Linked DNA regions of Homo sapiens: regions 2, 3, 4 and 5 are each linked to region 1. The links are contacts of gene promoters, found by promoter capture Hi-C in blood cells and fetal thymus (Javierre and others, 2016). All regions are on one chromosome and are shown on one strand. Each heading gives the region's core, a stretch centred on a gene start or on the middle of the fragment in contact. The rest is flanking DNA. Distances are from core to core; before and after follow the strand shown.

Region 1 (4,089 bases), core at 30-2,529:
TCCTGTAATCCCAGCACTTTGGGAGGCCGAGGCGGGCGGATCATGAGGTCAGGAGATCAAGACCCTCCTGGCCAACATGGCGAAACCCCGTCTCTAATAAAAATACAAAACTAGCCAGGCATGGTGGTGCATGCCTGTAATCCCAGCTACTCGGGAGGCTGAGGCAGAGAACTGTTTGAACCCGGGAGGTGGAAGTTGCAGTGAGCTGAGATTGCACCGCTGCACTCCAGCCTGGAGGACAGAGCGAGACTCCTTCTCAAAAAAAAAAAAGATGGAATTTACTCTTCACAGCATTCAGGGTTGCGTTTCTTTTTCCATGAGTGGTACTAAGAAGAGCCTCAAGGTGGGAGCAGGAAGGCTCTGCTGTGTCAGGTTATACCTGCACATATGCATGGCCACATGGCCCAACACTGTAAGGGCCTTGCTTGTAAGTCCCTTATTCTGTCCTCTAGCAATGTGACCATGTAGGCAACATTTGAAATTCCTTTAAAATTCCTTCTAGGCAGAGATTTAAGCTAAGAGGAGGACCTGAGTGACCTCTGGTGCAACATCTGAAAGCCCACGACAAGCCTCCTGGGCTTTTCCATGAATATCGCCGTGCCCCTGCCTACGGATATGCTGATGTGTGTATACAATATTCTGTGAGAAGCAGAGACGCTGAACACTAAACAACACAAACCCATTTGGTCTAACTCCATCTCTGCCTACTCAGACATCTGCTTCTAGCGGTATCAGAGTTATGTCTATGTAGCTAAAACAAATGGAGTAAGGCAGCAATACACACAGGCTGACAAGCCCAGGATGGAGGGCGGCACTGCAGATGCTCTGCTCTCTACTGGAATGTGTGGACATACAGGAATCCCTATCCCAGGACACCCGCAGACCCCCACCATGAATCCGAGATGCTCCCCAATGACGGTGATGATGACAGAACAGAGATGCCATCCCTGGTCACACACACACACACACACACACACACACTCCCACTGCCTCCCTCTGCACCCCTCCCAAAGGCACCTGCCTTCCTCTCCTCTCAATCCACAAGCCAACCTCCAGCTGCCACCTCTCTATCAGCCTTGGCTACCCCCACCCACGCTGGCACCTGCCTGGCAGCTCCCTATCCACCCCCTCAGCCCTCAGGAGGCCAGGGCACACGTGGAACAGGTTGATGTTGTTCTCCAGGAAGTGGAGTGGGAGGGGGGTGGGGTCACTAGGGCAGGCGGGGTCCCCGGAAGCCTCTGTCCCTGCATAAAGCAGCCTGTCCTGGCAAGGGATGGTCATCCTCTCAACCTACAGACCCAGTGAGCCCTAGGCCCTCACCCCAGACCCAGCTGCTGGATAGGACCCAGCCCCGCTCCCAGGTAAGAACTTGATGACAGCAGGGAAGGCAGGGGTGCTCTGAGGACACAGGAAGATGGGTGGACCAAGAAGGGAATGGAACTCCCCTAGAGTCCAGTGGGATAAGTATCCCGATAGGCCTTGGGGAGGGAAGGGAGAGGCAGGCCTGTGGACATCTCTCTGGTGAAGAGGAGGCTGCTGTTGCCCAAGCCCTTCCCAGGTGCACCCAGGTAGCACCAGGAGGTTGTCCTGCCCCATCCTGGCCCTCCCAGGAATGAGGGTGAAAAAAAAAAAGCACCTTGAAGCTGGCAGAACAGCCCCACGCATCTGTGCCGTGCTTCCTGCCCCCCCTGCTGCTGTGAAGTGCCTGTGGTGGATGTGGGATGCTTCCAAGCCAGCTGGTGTGGCCTCTTCCACCCACGGGGATAACTGGGGTGTGCCGATCGGCCACCCAGCCAGAGCACCTGGACTCAAACTTCAAAGACAGAGACTTAAGATGTTGACCCTCAGGTCAGGTGCGGTGGCTCACACCTGTAATCCCAGCACTTTGGGAGGGTGAGATGGGCGGATCACCTGAGGTCAGGAGTTCAAGACCAGCCTGGCCAACATGGTGAAACACCGTCTCTACTAAAAACACAAAAATTAGCTGGGCATGGTGGCAGGCGCCTGTAATCCCAGCTACCTGGGAGACTGAGGCAGGAGAATCACTTGAACCCAGGAGATGGAGGTTGCAGTGAGCCGAGATCATGCCATTGCACTCCAGCCTGGGCAACAAGAATGAAACTCCATCTCAAAAAGAAAAAAAAAATGTTGCCTCTCAGGTTCCCATGGGCCCCACATTCTCCAGGGCCCTCTCATCCTAGCGCACATCTCTCAGGGCCACATTCATTGGTTCTTTCCACACACATTTGCCAAGCTCGAACTCTGTGCCAGGTGTGGTACTTGCTGCTGCAGAGGTGACTAAGACCCATTTCCTGCCCTCTGGGAAGTCACAGACGAGTTGCTGATAGGGTCAGGTGAACAGATCATAACAAAGGAAGGTGCATCAGAAGAGCGCTTTGGAAACACAGATACAGTCACCAGCTGCCTGGAGGACTGAGGGAAGAGGTTCCAGGAGGTGACCTGAATTGAGCATTAGCGGAGGACTAGGGAGTCTTCAGATCCGGAAGCGGGTATTGTAAGCAGAGGGGGCAAAGGTGAAGAGCATCAAAATGCCTGGATCCTGGCTGGGCACAGAGGCTCACACCTGTAATCACAGTACTTTGGGAGGTCAAGGAGGGCGGATCATTTGAGGTCAGGAGTTCGAGACCAGCCTGACCAACATGGTGAAACCCTGTCTCCATTAAAAATACAAAAATTAGCCAGGCGTGGTGGCACACACCTGCAGTCCCAGCTACTCGGGAGGCTGAGGCAGGAGAATCGCTTGAATCTGAGAGGTGGAGACTGCAGGGAGCCGAGATGGCACCACTGCACTCCACCCTGGGCAACAGAGTAAGACTCCATCTCAAAAAGAAAAAAAAAAGTCTGGATCCAGGCATCCCCCAGGGGCTGTGAGAGGGGAGTGGGTGTACTCATACCTGTGGCACGCATGAGGGAAGGACAGGGTGCAGGGAAGTGTAACCCACACATGGAAAGGGCAACTGGGGCAGGTGAACAGCTTGGCCACCCAGGCTCTTGTTGCCAGCAGCATCTCCTTCCCTCCCCTGGTGTCCTCCGACTCTGGCTATTGCTAGTCTCTGGTGTGAGAGAAAGCTTTACTTCCATTGCTAAATAAATGCTCTAGACCAGGCGCAGTGGCTCACACCTGTAATCCCAGCACTTCGGGAGGCTGAGGTGGGAGGATCACTTGAGCCAGGAGTTTGAGACCAGCCTGGGAAACATAGTGAGACTCTGTCTCTACAAAAAAAATTTAAAAATTAGCCAAGTGCATGACTGCAGTCCCAGCTACTCAGGAGGCTGAAGTGGGAGGATCAATTAAGCCTTGGCGGTCAAGGCTGCAGTGAGCTGTGATCACGCCACTGCACTCCAACCTGGGCAACAGAGTAAGACCCTGTCTCGGAAGAAAAGAGAAGAAAGCAAAGCAAGGAAAGGCGAGGTGGAGGGAAGGAAGGAAGGGAAGGAAGGAAGGAAGGGAGAGGGGGAAGAAAGAAAGAGGAAAGAAAGAAAGAAGGAAGGAAGGAAGAAAGGGAGGGAGGGAGAGAAAGAAAGAAGGAAGGAAGGAAGGAAAGAAAGAAAGAAAGAGAAATAAATAAAGAAAGAAAGAAAGAAAGAAAAAGAAAAGAAAGAAAAGAAGTGCTCCAGCTGGGCTCCGTGGCAGTGAAGAAAATGAGCGTGGAGTGAGAAAAATGCCCTTGACAAAGAAAAGGGAGGTGTGGCTTTGCTGGCCATCTGTGGGACTTTGGGGCAACTCTTTCAACTCTCCAGCCCTAGGTTCCTCATCATAAAATGCAGACTCCCTTGATTCTTTCCAGCTGTGACATGAGACAATCCAGGCATCTCTAAGAGCTCCTCCTGCCTCAGAGCCGGGTAAACTCTCTCTGCAGGGGCCCAGCCTATATCCCGGGCTCCTTGGCAGCCTTGGCAGCCACCTTGACACTCTCCTGTCTCCCCACCTCCACAGAGACAATGACCATGTTTGAAAATGTCACCCGGGCCCTGGCCAGACAGCTAAACCCTCGAGGGGACCTGACACCACTTGACAGCCTCATCGACTTCAAGCGCTTCCATCCCTTCTGCCTGGTGCTGAGGAAG
Region 2 (3,873 bases), core at 789-3,288, 420 kb before region 1:
TAGGGTACAAAAGATTATTTTGTACCCTGGCCAGGAAAGGCAGGGAGTCATCTTTCTGTCTTCCTGCTTCCCCTCTTTCAACCTTCACCTTTTTATCCTCTTCTTCCATATCCTGAGATTGTTGCTTTTGCTGATGACATTTCTAAGCTCAGTTGCAGATGGTGTCTGTGGGAAGTAAAGCTTGGTGAGAAGAGGGCTCTCTGGTATCTAAGAGAAAGCAGATAAGAGTTGCTTTAATGTCCTGGTGATTAATCACTGGGGTGCCAAAACACTTTGACCACTGGATTTCTCTCATATCTCTTATCTCAAAAAATTAGTACTCCAAGGCTGAGAGAAAGAGACTGATACTGAGTTTGTCTTTCATACCCTCTAAGTGGGTAGTTTGTTAGTGGACCATTCTCAATTTGCAACCTTCAGCTACAGCATACTTCTGTGGAATAAGAAGGTATAGCCATGAAATAAATTTACTTAGACCCAGGTTCTCTAGGACCTGTAAATGGATGGACTTTTTGATATCTTGCTCTGGCATGTTTGTAAACTACAGATAGTATTGACAGCTCTAAAGGAATGAAGGGCATTTTATCCAGGCCAAACCAACCCTGAGGGAGGCAGCATGAAGAAACCTTTAAGAAGTCCACCATATAGCAGTCAGAGCTAAGTAAAGAACAAAGTCTGAGTCTTGGAGGATGTCTTTTCTCTACCTAAGGGGCCTATCTGATGGACTCTCTAGGAGGGGATCCTTCTCCCTCCTCAGTCTCAGAACTACAATAGTGCCTAATGAGGGACACCCTTGGTGAGGATCAGCTTGTAGATGACCCTCCTCACCAAGGCTAATGCAATTTTGAATGCATTTGGACCTGGAGAAAACAGGCTGAATTCAAAGACCTAAAGAAAGCTTAGTAGCCTGGTCCCTTTTTTAAAGTCTGGAACTTTTTAGTTTGGCCTTATACTAGTGTTAATATTTATAATTTCTGTTAGGGGACCAAAAGTCTCAGAAAATGAAGCAATATAAGAGGTGGAAATAAGGGTAAGAAGGGAGAACTAGAAGAGTCTGGTAGCTGGGCTGCAGAAAGAGACTTGGGGTATAATTCCTTATTTTTATTTATTTATTTATTTATTTATTTATTTATTTATTTATTTTTGAGATGGACTTGCTCTTCTTGGAGTGCAGTGGTGTGATCTCGGCTCACTGCAGCCTCCACCTCCCAGGTTCCAGCAATTCTCCTGTCTCAGCCTCCCAAGTAGCTGGGATTACAGGTGCGTGCCACCATGCCCAGCTAATTTTTTGTATTTTTAGTAGTGACAGGGTTTCACCATGCTGGCCAGGCTGGTCTTGAACTCCTGACCTTGTGATCCACCCGCCTCGGCCTCCCAAAGTGCTCGGCCTCCCAAAGTGAGCCACCGCGCCCAGCTTGGATATAATTGCTTATAAAGAAGAGAGGGATACAGGATGGAAGGAAAAATTATGGTTGAGTTAGTGAAATTTATAGGATAATTTTCTTAGAGATTCACAGTTCATTTCAGGAAGACCCCATTAAAGCACCAATACTGAGTAAAGAATTCCCCTTAATTACAGTAGTCTTACCTTTAGGGTTGGAGGATGGGCCAAGAACCCCTAGGATACTATGAAGACATTTTCTGTAGGGAAACTAGAAAAGATGGGCAAATATGTTAAGCAATATGTAAGGACATTTACTTAACACTGTTATCTACATAGTTCAAGAGAGTAATTCAAGAATAAGGAGGAATGACATGGATGCATCACATTAAACAGTTATTTGTATTGTTTGAATTTCAAAACTCCTGCAAGTGGTTTTAGGTATGCTAAGTCAACCTAGAGACTAGTAGTATTCCTCTGCCACTCATTTTAGATCCAAATGATGGCAGTGCATAGAAGAACAAACGAGAATATGCGAATTAGAGTCACAGAATGTTAGAGCTACAAAAGAAGATTAGTTTGTTTGGTTCAGTACCATCTTTAACCAGTAAAAAATGCCCAGAAAGGCCGAGGAACATGTATGGTGTTGCGAGAAAGAAGGGAGAGAAAGGGAACTAACATTGTTGGGTACCTGCTATGTGTCAGGCGCTGCCTAAGTGCTTTGTTTTTATCTTGATTGATTAGCACCTTGAGGCTAAGGGATAGAATGAATAAATGGCAAACCCCGGCTACCTGGGAGCGGTGGCTCACGCCTGTAATCCCAGCACTTTGGGAGGCCAAGGTGGGTGGATCACGAGGTCAGGAGATCGAGACCATTCTGGCTTACACGGTGAAACCCCATCTCTACTAAAAATACAAAAAATTAGCCAGGCGTGGTGGCACAAGCCTGTAGTCCCAGCTTCCCGGGAGGCTGAGGCAGGAGAATTTGCTTGAACCCAGGAGGTGGAGGTTGCAGTGAGTGAAGATTGCGCCACTTCACTCCAGCCTAGGCGACAGAATGAGACTCCATCTCAAATAAATACATACATACATACATACATACATACATACATACATACATACATACATAAGGCTAGTATCCTGAGCAATATGTAGGAGATAAAAGGGAGTGGTAGACCACGTTTTTCTCTCTAACCACACAGGGCTAAACTAGAGGAAGTAAAGAGTCAGCATTTGAGAGTGAGGTTAATCTAAGGAAGTATTTGCCAAACTGTTGAAAGCGACTCATAAATAACTTCTCCATTCCTAGAGACCTTCCAAAACATGTTGATAAGAGTTAGGACTGATAGGGACCAAGATTACTCTTGGCTCTGGAATTGATTTTCATTTTGGAAAATCAAGTCATGACCTGAGAATGTGGGATTAATTGTACAAATAGGAAACAAAATGGAGCTTCTCATCCTAAAATGTCTTCAAAGAGAATAGTATTTATCTACCATGAATGAAGGAGATAAATTCCTTTGGTGACTGTACTTGTTTTTTTGTTTTGTTTTGTAACACTTTGAAGTCATGAAACTGAATTTGTAATCTTGGGGAGATTCAGTGCCAAGTTCAAGGCAGGTGGCAATTTGAAAATTGACAGAATAAGATTGTGTTCCTCATGGTTGTTTGATATAATATCCCAATAGTTATACCATGAGGGCTGCTTCAGTGGGGAGCATTAATATCATTAGCAGAGGCATGTCCTGTGTACAGACAGGACAACCTCTGAGGAAGAAGACTGGGGGAGGGTCCCACCTTCAGGAAGCTTCTGGGTCTTGTGAGAGAGGTCAGTCTTACAGCTGGTGGAGAGTGGGGAATCTGTAAGTCAACATATCAATGCAGGTTGTAATATAAAACTATTATAATAAGAGGAAACCAAAGGAAAGAAATAATCGGAGAAAGTGGACTTATTCAGAAACAATTATTTGAAAATAAAGAAGATAGGGGACATAGAACAGAAGAGGAAGGTGAGCAGTGGGAGGAATCTCATGGAAGAGGGCTCATGTATGTTTTGTGCAGAGGCTGTGAATTGGCTGACCAGAATGGTACAGGAAAGGAGTATTAGGAAATGAAGTTGGAGGAGCAATCTCATTGGCTTGAATGAGGAATTTGAGTTGTTAAGCAGTAGCAGGGAACAGAGCATGATGAGATGAAAATCACATTGAGGACTTTTGTAGCAGTACTTGGTCAAGGAAGCAGGAAAGTTCACTAAAATATTATTGTTCTTGCCAAGACATGAAGCACTGAGAGTTTACAGTAGAGTAAGACAAGGAGAATCAGAGGAAAGAAAGTGGGTCCATAGGAATTAGCAAGGCTTGGTCACAGCTTGGATGTGAGGAGAGGGATAAAAGCCTCAGGATGATGATCCCAAGACACATTTGTGCTGTTGGTGGTGATGAAAGCTTGATAAGAGGGAACTGCTTTGTTTTTAAGTAGGAAGTGTTTTGTCTTAT
Region 3 (4,126 bases), core at 1,320-3,819, 390 kb before region 1:
GTACGTAAGTTCAACACACATTTAATAAATACGGCCAGGCGCGGTGGCTCACGCCTGTAATGCTAGCACTTTGGGAGGCCGAGGCGGGCAGATCACTTGAGGTCAGGAGTTCAAAACCAGCCTGGCCAACATGGTGAAACCCCGTCTCTACTTAAAGTCCAAAAAAATTAACCGGGCGTGGTGGCGGGCGCCTGTAATCCCAGCTACTCGGGAGGCTGAGGCAGGAGAATCGCTTGAACCCGGGAGGCGGAGGTTGCAGCGAGCCGAGGTCGCGCCAATGCACTCCAGCTTACCCAATAGAGCGAGACGCCGTCTCAAAATAAAATAAAATAAAATAAAATAAATAAGTGAGCGAGTGTATGAGTCGGCCTCCCAAGTCCTGAGAGGCTCAGAGCTTGACCCCCACCAGCAACCTTTGCCCGCACGACCATTTCCCCTGGGGTCCTGGCGGCGACCGCAATGGAGGGGAAAGAGGCCACTGCAGCTTTAAGATTTCTCTCGGGCGTCCCGGTTGCCAAGGCGCGGTTGCCAGCGCCCTGCGCGGAGCTGCGTCCTGCTTTAGCGCGCGGCCTTCGGGTTTCCGCCATCGCCGCCGCCGCCGCCGCCGCCGCCGGGCCGCGCCGGGCTCCGCTCCTCCGAACCGTCTGGCGGACTTGGCACCGGCCCCCGCTCCTCAGTGCCCCCGCAGTGCGTGGCAGGCTGCGGCTTCATTATCCTGATTGATTCCTCCTGCTCCCCGACACCATGGGGGCCCCGGACAAGGAAGGGAGGCGGAGGCGGCATCTGCAGGCCCCTTCCCCGGCCCTCGCCCCCAGCCGCTCCTCAGGCCACCCTGCTGTGGCTGGCCAGGCAGGGCGGGGATGGAGGACCGGCCCCGCCTCTGCTCTCTTGGTGGGCGGGGAGGGGAGGGCCCCAAGGGAGAGCGGAGCAGTGTCCGGTCGGTGCTCTTCCAAGGTTCCAGCTCTGGGCCGCGTACACCCTGCCTCGGCCCGCCCTCAGCAAAGATTTTGCGCCTTCTGAACCGGGAGGATATGGAAAGGTTGGGGTGGGGAAAGAACACAGTGGAGGACTGAGAACTTCAGGAAAACAAGCCCTGGTAAAACGGGAAAGGTGACATCTCTGAGGAGCGTTGGTCACGTGTGTCAAGGCCTGGTGACGCGTGTCTTATGTGCCTCCCTGGGCATCTTCTCAGTACAGTTCTCAGTAGAAGCAGGGGCAGGGTCTGGACCCAACCAACACAGGACACCCCGCAAGGATCTAAGCTTAAAGGAAGGCCAGGAGTCTGTGTGAGGGAGAGGACCTTTTCCCCAGAATCCAGCATGGTGTGCCCACCCCACGCCCAAACCAAGTACTGACACCTTAAAAAGAGCATCTGGGCCGGGTGCGGTGGCTCCCGCCTGTAATCCCAACACTTTGGGAGGCCGAGGCGGGCGGATCATGAGGTCAGGAGTTCGAGACCAGTCTGGCCAACATGGTGAAACCCCGCCTCTACTAAAAATACAAAAAAAAAAAATAGCTGGGCGTGGTGGCGGGCGCCTGTAATCCCAGCTACTCTGGAGGCTGAGGCAGGAGAATCGTTTGAACCCGGGAGGCAGAGGTTGCAATGAGCCAAGATTGCACCATTGCATTCCAGCCTGGGCAACAAGAGCAAAACTCCGTCTCAAAAAAAAAAAAAAAAAAAAAAAAAAAAAAAAAAAAAAAAAAGAGCATCTGGGGCCAGAACTGAGATTGGAGCATCTACTTAGTTCCGCCACTTGGTTTGTAGCCTGGGCAAGTCGCTTTACCTTTCTTAGCCATGGCTTATCCATCTATACAATAGGGATAAGCCAGTTGCCAATGACTAAATGGGATAATATGTAATGTGTAGATGGCAGGACCTTAAGTCCTCTGGCAAAAAGAAGAAAGGGAGATAAGGGGCTGACCTCTATCCCTGCTGCTGTTTTGGGTGGATACCTTGAGGGAGGTGAGTCTTCTCCATATGCTTAAATCCCTGCTTAACTGGAAGATTACCTCAAACCTTCCAGCCAAAGCCGCCCCATTGTCACAGTAGAGGGGCAAAACTGCTCTTTACCTCATTGGCATTGCACGGATTCAATATCTAGGTTTACACCAGGCTCTCTACTACTGTCCTTCTCTCCTTGGGTCCTCTCTTCCCACAATCCCTGACAGTCTCCCTCTCGTGCCTTGCCCCTGTCCTGTCCAAGGGCCAGACCTGGGAAGTTTCTTCCATAGACTCCAACCTTTGATCCCTCTCAGCCCTGGGAAAGAGGGAACTGGTGGAGAATTTGAGGCCGTTTAATGTATACCTGTCATGCTTGTGAATGTGATCTGAGCCTCTCTGGCAACTTCAGTGTCTATCTCAGGGCCTGTTTCCTCTTCTGTAAATTCATTATTCTTGCAACCCACATTGACTGGGTGACAACAGCAGGGCAGCATGGTGCACCCAGCAGGTTGGGAGTATGGAAAAAACACAGGATGGAAAGAACTCCACTGAGGCCGGGCTCGGTGGCTAATGCCTGTAATCCCAGGACTTTGGGAGGCCGAGGTGGGCAGATCGCCTGAGGTCAGGAGTTGAAGACCAGCCTGGCCAACATGGTGAAACCTCGTCTCTACTAAAAATACAAAAAGTAGCCAGGCATGGTGGTGCGCACCTGTAATCCCAGCTACTCAGGAGGCTGAGGCACGAGAATCACTTGAACCCGGGAGGCAGAGGTTGCAGAGAGCTGAGATCGTGCCACTGCACACTGCAGCCTGGGTGACAGAGTGAGACTCCATCTCAAGAAATAAAACCCCACTGTGAAACTACTGATCTGGGGACAACAGACCAATGCACACAGCAGGCTCTCCAATACTAGGGGTCGGTGCAGGGACACCTCCCAGATTCTAGAGCATTCCACAGTGTCATGATGCTTCCTCCTGTCCTTCCTGAGTACAGCAGACTCTTCCCCTAGACTTCTGTCAGAGGCTAATTCATTTCCTACGGGAAAAGACATCCTAAAATTTGAGTCTGGGGCTTTTGTTCATTCCCTTTTGTTGGAATTCCCTATTTTTACACCAGTCATCCAGTATCTTTATATTCAAAGGGAAAACACAATAAAAATACTTCCAGTTTGCCAGTAGCCAGAATCAGGTTAGCTCATGTATCTAGGTTTGCAAAGCTGCCCAGGACCTTTGTTCAGTGTGGCCCTGTGTGTGGCTGCCTTAGTCTACCCACTGGCCTGTCTGCCCACCCATCCCTGGCTGGCCTGCCCTATCTTCAGCGCCTATAGCCCTCAGCTCCACTTCCTATTAATACAAACCATGTGGGACCCTCACTGTGGCGTCTCCAGGCAAAAGATGAAGCCACAGCCGCCTAGTGGCTGCCAGGGAGGCTGGCAGGAAGGGGCATCTCTACCCGGCGTCTCCTGGGAAACAGCGAGCTCCCCAGAGAAGGGACATTTGGAAATAAAATTTCTGCCGTTGTGTGTCAATGTGTGTGTTGAGGCAGGAGAGGGAGTTAAGAAGCCTCCCCAGCCCCTCTGTTCCTTTCTCCTCAGGAAAAGCCTCTTGGAGCAACTCTCCCACTGCCTCCCAAAACTCCAGCCCCTTGTAGGCTCTCCTGGGACTGGACAAGTGGCTGAAAATGTTCCTTCAGATTCATGATGCAGGTGAAGAAGAGCACTGGACTGAGAGTCAGAGGCCCCAGTTCTGAGCTTCCTGACTTACCCCGTGGCTCTGGCCTGTTATACCTCCCTTTCTGAGTCCTAAGTTCCTCCTCTGTAAAATGAAATTTTTTCATCATTCCTGGTCTCTACATTGGGCCTCCTCCACAAAGTCCAGGAATATAGTTGGGGCATTCTAGGCCATTCTTTCCTATACTTAGGACAGATAACTAATAGAAGCTTATAATTCCTAGAGTGACCTTGACTCTAGGAATTCTACAGCGACCTTGAATGAGCCAGGGCCCTTCACCTGCCCATGCATTCATTCAGGCATTTGTAGGTGCCTTTTGAGAGTGAAGTCTGTGCTAAGAGGGTGAAGTCTGTGCTAAGAGGGTCTAAAGCTGCCCCAAATTTTTTTTTTTTTTTTGTAGAGATGGAGTCTTGCTCTGTTACCCAGGCTGGAGTGCGGTGGCGTGATCTTGGCT
Region 4 (4,024 bases), core at 622-3,121, 460 kb after region 1:
CCTGCTGAGTAGCTGGGATTACAGGTGTCCACCACCACGCCCAGCTAATTTTTGTATTTTTAGTAGAGATGGGGTTTCACCATGTTGGTCAGGCTATTCTCGAACCCCTGACCTCGTGATCCACCCGCCTCGGCCTCCCAAAGTGCTGGGATTATAGGCGTGAGCCACGGCGCCCGGCCTATAATTTTTAACAATCTAAAATGGGGATAATGGGAGTACCTCCTCCTGCTCTTCATAGGGTGAGCTATCCTCATTATCCACCCACCCTGCCCCACTCTGCAAAATTCTTACACCAAATTCTTAGTGCATTGTCTGGCAAGTAATAAGTGCTCAAGACATGTTAACAATGACTACCTCTGCTCCTTTCCAGGATCTTCCTTCCCTGCTAGTCCCACCAATTCCTTCTCCAAAACCAGCTCAAAATTCTCCTACCCAGGGAGCCTTCTCTGACAGTCTTTTTCATTGAACCTCCTCAAGTCTTTTGAGGTATATTTGCATATGCAGATAAGTTCCTTTTATAAGTATTCTTTGGTTGTTTTCTCCTGGGTTGTGTGCTTCCGTTCTTTCTGCTCTTTGGCAAGGGGAGGGAAGGTCCTGGAGGCATAGTGTCCCCTTCATGGATCTGGAAGGTCCCCTAGAAAGAGCAGCATTTCTTCTCTTTTGCAGGCTTTCCCAGCAGAAGGAGGCTGGACTGAAAGTGTGGCTCTGGATTTGGGGTTTGGAGCTGGCTAGGCTGGAGCCCACTGGGAATTCCTGGATGAGGCTGAGCCAGCGCCAGAGTACTCAGGTGGTTAGGGCTGGGCCAAGAAGCTCTGTTTACCTTGAGGTTGACAACTGGCGAGCCTGGTCAGTTTATTTATTTATTTATTTTTATTTGTTTATTTTTTTACCAGGGATACCAGCCTCTGGTTGGAGGAGGCCAAGAAAACCCAAAATGTCCCATACAGCCTAGCCTCTAGGTGGCCCCTGTCAAAGAAATGTGGACAAAGTTGGGAGGAGAGCAAGGGAGGTTACAGAGGGGAGCAGTTCAGGACCAGAGTTGAGTAATCCCTAAGTCTGCACAGAAGTTCCCTATCCATCAAAAATTTTAAAATGTACACACCTTGTAACTCAGCAGTTTAAATTCTAGGAATACTGAATTCAATCAATTCAATTCAGTTGTGGAATTGTGCAAAGATGTATGTACATATGTATAGGATTATTGCAATGTTGGTGGTTTTCTTTTTCTTTTCTTTTTCTTTTTCTTTTTTTTTGAGACGGATTCTTGCTGTGTCGCCCAGGCTGGAGTGCAGTGGTGCAATCTCGGCTCACTGCAACCTCCGCCTCCTGGGTTCAAGTGATTTTTCCTGGCTCAGCTTCCTGAGTAGCTGGGACTACAGGCACATGACACCACGCCCAGCTAATTTTTGTATTTTTAGAAGAGATGAGGTTTCACCATGTTGGCCAGGCTTGTCTCGAACTCCTGACCTCAAGTGATCCACCCGCCTCGGCCTCTCAAAGTGCTGGGATTACAGGTGTGAGCCACTGCACCCGGCCTATTTATTGCAATATTGTTTTTAATAGAAAATAACTGGCAGCAAGCTAATGGAATGAAATGATATGCAGCTATTAAAGAGATGGACATTGGTCTAAGTGTACTGATATGGAGGTATCTCTAAGATATACTGTTAAGTTTTTTAAAAAGTGAGGCAAATACTGTCTAGAGCATAATTCCATTTGAGTAAATAAAATTATATATATTATACATACATATATGTGTATACCCATATGTGTATATATTATATATACATATATGTGTATACACATATATGTGTATATATATGGATTGAGTATATATATATGTATATATATATGGATTGAGAATATCTGGAAGGAATTGTAAGGAGGTGGAGGGAAAGGAAGACTTCCTTTCTTCTTTCTTTTTGAGACACAGTTTCAGCTCTGTTGCCCAGGCTGGAGTGTAGTGGCACCATCATGACTCATTGCAGCCTCAAACTCCTGGGCTCAAGCGATTCTCCTGTCTCAGCCTCCCAAGTAGCTGGGACTACAGGCCTGTGCCAGCAAGCCTGGCTGATTAAAAAAAATGTTTTTTTTAGAGACGAGGTCTTGCTATGTTTCCCAGGCTGGTCTCCAACTCCTGGGCTCAAGTGGTCCTCCCAGTTCAGCCTCCCAAGGTGTTGGGATTACAGGCGTGAGCCACTGCACCCAGCCAAGAGTTGCTTTTTGTATTTTTCCTCCTATTTGAAAATTTAAAAGTAAGGTCACCCTTCTCACCCCTGTCACCTTCCCCCACCTCATTGAAGGCAGGCATACCTGTCTATACACGTTTGTGTAAGAATGTAATTTTTATAGATAAAGATAGATTATCAGTAGACTTGGGAACTCAGTGCTAAGAACTCTGCAGAAAAGTTAAATCTTTGGACCAAAGTAAGGGACACTGTGCTGTGGTGAGAAGTCCCAGACCAGCTCTGCTGTCCCTAGTTGCACGAGCTTGGGTAAATCCCCTTCTCTCTCTAGTTTTCAGTTTCCCCACCTGTAAACTGAAGTTGAGGTACCCCAGCTAGAGGATTGGGTTGCAAAATGCCTTCTTCACAGTCTCAGAGAGGTGATAGTGAGGCCGGGCATGGTGGCTCACGCCTGTAATCCCAGCACTTTGGGAGGCCGAGGCGGGCAGATCACCAGGTCAGGAGATGGAGACCATCCTGGCTAACACAGTGAAACCCTGTCTCTACTAAAAATACAAAAAAAAAAAAAAAAAAAAATTTGCCGGGCATGGTGGTGAGCACCTGTAGTCCCAGCTATGCGGGAGGCTGAGGCAGGAGAATGGTGCAAACCCGGGAGGCGGAGTTTGCAGTGAGCCGAGATCGCGCCATTGCACTCCAGCCTGGGTGACAGAGTGAGACTCCGTCTCAAAAAAAAAAAAAAAAAAAAAAAAAAAAGAGAGAGGTGATAGTGAAAGCACTTGGAGGAGGTGAGGCCCAGTTAACCAATCCAGAACAGTCCCACTTTCATCTTTTCATATTTTAGGTTCTGTGTAAAACTTCATTAAACACAGGGCTCCACTGCTTAGATTTTTAAAATTAATGGGTAAATTACTGTTAAGGGCTTTTCAAGTTCTGACACTGTAATTCCAAATATGACTTTTCATTTATTGAGTTGGTTTAAATCAGGGTATGCCTGCAGCTTTGTCTTCCTTTCCCCCCCACAGAGCCCAACCAGGGCTGCAGAGGAGCTCAAGCCCATCGGGGCTGAACCCTGGTGTATGGGGAGGCAGAGGAGGGCCACGGATCCTTTTCACTCTTTATGTGACATCCCTTCCCCCATCTCGTGGCCTAGTGGTATGGCTGGGGCTCTGCCAGCTCCCTAAGACATCCCCAATTGCCCCTCTCTGGCACCAGTGCCTGCCGATGGCAGCTGCTGGAACTGGAGCTTGGCCTTAGTTTTATGCCTGCTGGAGACTTGATCAGCAAGACCTGGGCAAACATAATGAGCCCCTTGCTGCTTCCTCACCCCTAAACTCTCCAGCTCCCTACATCCTTCCTCTGCAGCCCACAGAATGGAAGTGGTAAAGTAGCCCTCCCATCTGACAGCAGAGGCCAGGGCTGGGCCTCTCTGTTCTCTCAGCTTTTCACACCAGGAAAGGGAGGCAGAACTGGACTGAGTATCTTGATAGTCCTCAGGCTACTTGAATGATCGCCCTCAGTATGTTTTATTTGGTCACTGTGGAACATGGAAGGTCATCACCGAGGAACTTCTGCATTGGAATCCTCTACCTCGGAAGAGGAATAAAAAAGTACGTCTCTGGAGCGTCTTCCCTCCGACGTTATCCGGCAGTTGTCCCCCCCTGCTGCTATCTCCAAGGCAATCAGGGCCAGTTTATGTCTACAGGGTCCCCTTCACTGACGATCTGAGACACTAGGCAGGTTGGAAAGGGTGGAGTGGTGCTAGGAGCAAATTATTCACCTGAAGAAAATAGAAAGTTAGATCCTTCTGTTTAGGATTGAAGAAAATAATGGTGTTTCCC
Region 5 (4,157 bases), core at 814-3,313, 330 kb before region 1:
CCAGGTCCAAGAAGAGGGAAGAAGGTGTGCAAAGAGAAAGAGATGCGAGTCAGAGGGGGACTTCTGGGCCAACCTGGAGGAGGCTTCGTTTCTAGTCAGGGAGCTGGGGAGATATACCTGAAGGACATAGGAGGGCCTCTTCCTGACTAAGCCCTGTTGCCTACCAACCCCCCACCTCAACTCCTGCCTGGGGCTCTTCCTGCCCGGCCAGCCCCCTCCGCTCCTGCGGAGGTTGGGAGGGAGAGCTACCGGAAGAGTATGCTGGGAAGTGGTTCGGGGGAGGGTTTAATAAGTTCCCAGCACCAGCCAAGGTCAACAGGTATACCTGTCAGCCCACTTGCCAGGGTTGGGAACAGAGAGGAGAGGCTGGGAAGGGAGGAGAGAAGGGAAGGGGTTATTTTGCTTTCCCCAGGACAGGAAAATGAAGGGTCAGAGCTGCAGCAAGTGGGCAGTGTGGCTCAGCACCTGGAAGGACCTCCCCACCTAGAGGGGTGTGTGGAAGGGCCCCAAAGCAGGCATGAGGGACAGAGTGTCATCTTCTCAGGAGAGAATTTAAGAAATCCCTCTCCCTCCCACCTTGGGCTGGGTAGGGAGAGGCTGGGTGGATGTGAGGGGAAGACCTGGCTCTTGACTGCAAGCATGGGCGAACAGGCCAGGATGAAGATGTTAGGGCCAGGGTGCTACCATGCACCGTGCAGTGGTCAAAATTGTGCACCCCCTCAACTGCCCCTTTAGGCCACATCTTAGGAGAGTCCAGGTGAGTAGAGGCAGGGAAGAGGAAAGGGATCAGGAGAGGGGTGGCCAGTCTGGGGCAAGGCTGGGGACCTTCCAACTGAAGAAGGAAGACTTGTGGTGGGGGGAGTTTGGGGCCCCACAGAGTGGGGCAGAGAAGGAGACAGCCTGGAAGGAGTGATGGGGAGACCCCAGAGAGCCCAGGAGGCATGAGGGAGGTGGGGGAAGCGAGGGAGGCTCACGGGGCACCAGCGCAAGCACCGCACACACCTTCTGTTGTCACTGTGGCTCACGAAGTGAACTCTCCTCCCCCGCTGGGGGAGAAGGAAGCTGCCTGGGCTGCCACCTGCTCTCCTGCCTTACCTCCCCCCACAGCCCTCATGGATCCTTCTCTACCAGGAGGGCACTGTTTTGTAGGCTTCAGTCCTTTTGTGGGCAAGGGAAGGTGCCCGGCAGGGTTGGGGCTTGTCAGGGAAGAATCGAGGGCCCTAGAGAGAGGGGCACAGCACTAAGTCTTAGCTTGAGGGGTTGTGCTCCAAGGCTGGAGCTCTCACACTTGGCTCAAGATGAAGCTCTGCCGCGTCCCCAAGGTCAGGGTAGGGTGATTTATTGTGCTTTTATTGCCTGGATAGCTTGCCCAGAGCCAGCAGGAGGTACTGGGCTGGGAGCTGGGGGCTGGGTGGGGCAGCGGGCACATACAAAGCACCCTCTGTGCCTGTCCCCGAGTTGGCAGGAGCATAGCACCCTGCTCACTGTGCCGGAGGTTTCCAGCCTGGCCCTACCCCTCTGGGCCTTCTGAGGGGAGGGGCCACTGGCAGACCAAGAAGGAACTGCAGCAACTCCCCATTCCCCACCCCCAGCCCCTCCTCAGCATCTTGTCTGTGGCCTGTGAACTTTGTGTCGCATATGTTCTAAGATCCTGCCAGCTCCTGCAGCCTCTCCTCAGTGGCCCCTCAACCTCTGCCATCCCCCAGAACCCCTGGCCTTGGCCCCTTTCTCTAACCCCTTGCTCCTTTCCATCTTTTGGAAACTTGTCTCCAGCTGCCCACACTGTTCCCTTCCCAGCCCTATCTGAGCAGGTCTTTGGAGGCTGGGGGGGTTGCTTTCTAGGTCACCGCAGAGGGAGCTGGGAACCTGGGGATGTGGGTCAAGATTGTGGGGGCCGCATCTGAGCATGCCGCATCCCCCGGCACAGACTGCACTGGCTGCAGACTATTATGTCCTCAGCCTCGGAATTGTTCTGTCCCTTGGAGCCCGGGGCAGGAGTATGTGGATTGGCATCTATGACTGGGCAGTGCCAGGGAGTGGGGACTATGCATCGCATGGGAGGTAGGATCAGGGTAAGCAGTGAGCCCTCAGCAGGCTGGGCACCCCCAAGAAATGGAAAGTGGCAAATCCCCAGGCCCTGGTTCCTACGCCCTGTGCCTTCTGCCTGGGCTTGAAGCTGGGAGACACTGTCTCCCGTACTGGGTACTTGGAAAATCAAGCTCTCCAGCCAGGGAATGTTAAGCTGCTGCTGTGCCCGCCTGGTCTTGCCCAGCCTAGTGCCCTATGGTGTGGGGGAGCTGCCTGGGGGCTAGCATCTTAGGACAGCTTAAGAGCCAAACATGATCAAATCTACCCCTGGCTGCCTCTGCCCTGGTCTGACACCCATCAGGCTGACCTGTCAACTTTGGCCTTTGAACTTGGGCCCCTGAGGGGGTATTCTCTGCCCCAGGCCTACGGGAAGGAGGCTGGGGGCTAGGCCACAGGCTATCTCCAGATCCATGGGCTGTGTCTAGCTGACCCTTGCTTTCCTCGGTCTCCTCTGTGCCAGCTGTGCAGCGCATTGCTGAGTCTCACCTGCAGTCTATCAGCAATTTGAATGAGAACCAGGCCTCAGAGGAGGAGGATGAGCTGGGGGAGCTTCGGGAGCTGGGTTATCCAAGAGAGGAAGATGAGGAGGAAGAGGAGGATGATGAAGAAGAGGAAGAAGAAGAGGACAGCCAGGCTGAAGTCCTGAAGGTCATCAGGCAGTCTGGTAAGCTGAGGGGCCTGTGACATGTGGATTAGCTGTGGGTCCTCCTTGAGTATACGAGGACGTCCCCTTCTAGTTCAGTGTCTCATACACGCAAACTGTAGTGACACCACAGGGGCCTCCCTGTCTTCTCGCTCCATGGGGTGCCCCGAACTCAGCCCTACCTGAGACATGGGTTTCCTCCATCCTTGGCTCAGTCCCTCTCCCAATCAGGTTTTCCCTAATAATTCCTCTCTTCCCTGAGAATTAAGGCCAAGGCCGTTTGGGGTTTGAGGCTAGAGCCAAAAGAGGACTTCCCACCTATGGCAGTAAGGGGGCGTGAGGACATTCAGGGATGGAGGACCAGGAGAGTCCAACACCCCTGTCACCTGCATTTCACCTACATTTTTGAACCTAGGATGTGGTCTCTGCTGGGGTGCAGAGGGCTGCCTCATTTACTTGCCCTCTCCAGGACTGTTGTCTGTTTCTCCTCTTTTTCCTTCCTAGGATGGAGTGGGAGGGTGCCCTCTAGTGTTTAGATGTAGAATTTAAAATTCAAGAACCAGCCCGGCCCATTAACCTTTTTAGTCTCATTATTTATGGGAATACTGAAGAGTCAACCACCCCTACTAGAAGCTGTCAGCTCTTCCACACAAACAAAAGGCCTTGGGCCTCCTGCCTGCATATCTGGCAGTGAAGAGATTGGCCATGGGGGCAAAAGCTGTTGCTGGGCTTCAGTCCCTTTGTGGGCAAGAGACAGCTGGAAGACCTGAATCAGTCCTCACTGAGACCCCTCCAAAACAGTGGAAGAGGGGTGAGAGGAGACTGTTCCCTCAGGAAAAGCAGCAGGTGGCTGGGTGCGGTGGCTCATGCCTGTAATTCCAGCACTTTGGGATGCCAAGGCTAGCGGATCACTTGAGGTCTGGAGTTCAAGACCAGTCCAGCCAACATGGTGAAACCCCATCTGTAATAAAAATACAAAAATTAGCCAGGCACAGTGGCACACACCTGTAATCCCAGCTGCTTGGGAGGCTGAGGCAGAAGAATCCCCTGAACCTGGGAGGTGGAAGTTGCAGTGAGCTGAGATCGCACCACTGCACTCCAGCCTGGGCAACAGAGTGAGACTCCATCTCAAAAACAAAAACAAAAAACCAAAACAAAACAACAAAAAAAAACAAACAAACAAAAAATGCAGAAGGGCACCGGGTCAAATGATAGTCCTATGATGGAGCAATATAAACCACCACGACTCCTAGTGGCTCCTGGGTGCTGGCGCTGGGCTGGGCAGGGTATTCACTATTACATCTTGTTTAAGGTAATCTACACAATTTCCCCCTTTCTATTTCCTTCAGAAAGGTACTAACTGACTTACGTAAGCCATATGGCTAGTTGCTGGGAGAGCTGTTCTAGCCCAGTTCTCTCTCCATGC

Evidence for each region. The method cuts DNA at HindIII sites, captures the fragments that hold promoters and counts their contacts. A CHiCAGO score of 5 or more calls a contact.
Region 2: a contact is called between a fragment that was not itself captured here and the fragment with the promoter of GSDMA in region 1, in 1 of 17 cell types (total B cells). The highest score is 6.4, in total B cells.
Region 3: a contact is called between a fragment that was not itself captured here and the fragment with the promoter of GSDMA in region 1, in 1 of 17 cell types (naive B cells). The highest score is 6.5, in naive B cells.
Region 4: a contact is called between a fragment that was not itself captured here and the fragment with the promoter of GSDMA in region 1, in 1 of 17 cell types (neutrophils). The highest score is 5.1, in neutrophils.
Region 5: a fragment that was not itself captured here is called in contact with the fragment with the promoter of GSDMA in region 1 in 11 of 17 cell types (activated CD4 T cells, total B cells, megakaryocytes and 8 more); the score reaches 10.2 in activated CD4 T cells.

The regions. Positions count from the first base shown.
Region 1 is chr17:39,961,725-39,965,813 of GRCh38, forward strand. It overlaps GSDMA (gasdermin A), which reads left to right and starts at 1,280. Exons shown (of 12, transcript NM_178171.5): 1 at 1,280-1,361; 2 at 3,959-4,089. The coding sequence starts at 3,964. The HindIII fragment of the contact is 5,749 bases long and covers 1-3,088 here.
Region 2 is chr17:39,536,449-39,540,321 of GRCh38, forward strand. It overlaps a transcript of CDK12 not described here. Among named protein-coding and RNA genes, the nearest start is that of NEUROD2, 70 kb to the right of the region's middle. The HindIII fragment of the contact is 2,290 bases long and covers 894-3,183 here.
Region 3 is chr17:39,573,039-39,577,164 of GRCh38, forward strand. LOC105371770 (a long non-coding RNA gene) reads right to left here and starts at 92. Exons shown (of 2, transcript XR_934745.3): 1 at 1-92. RefSeq lists a silencer at 583-852 and an enhancer at 1,518-2,092. The HindIII fragment of the contact is 2,619 bases long and covers 1,261-3,879 here.
Region 4 is chr17:40,422,556-40,426,579 of GRCh38, forward strand. No RefSeq gene overlaps it. Among named protein-coding and RNA genes, the nearest start is that of TOP2A, 6.7 kb to the left of the region's middle. The HindIII fragment of the contact is 5,218 bases long and covers 1-4,024 here.
Region 5 is chr17:39,631,335-39,635,491 of GRCh38, forward strand. It overlaps PPP1R1B (protein phosphatase 1 regulatory inhibitor subunit 1B), which reads left to right. Exons shown (of 7, transcript NM_032192.4): 5 at 2,549-2,752. It overlaps LOC124903998 (a long non-coding RNA gene), which reads right to left. Exons shown (of 2, transcript XR_007065749.1): 2 at 3,304-3,692. Among named protein-coding and RNA genes, the nearest start is that of STARD3, 3.7 kb to the right of the region's middle. RefSeq lists enhancers at 28-947, 948-1,867, 3,955-4,157. The HindIII fragment of the contact is 4,225 bases long and covers 1-4,157 here.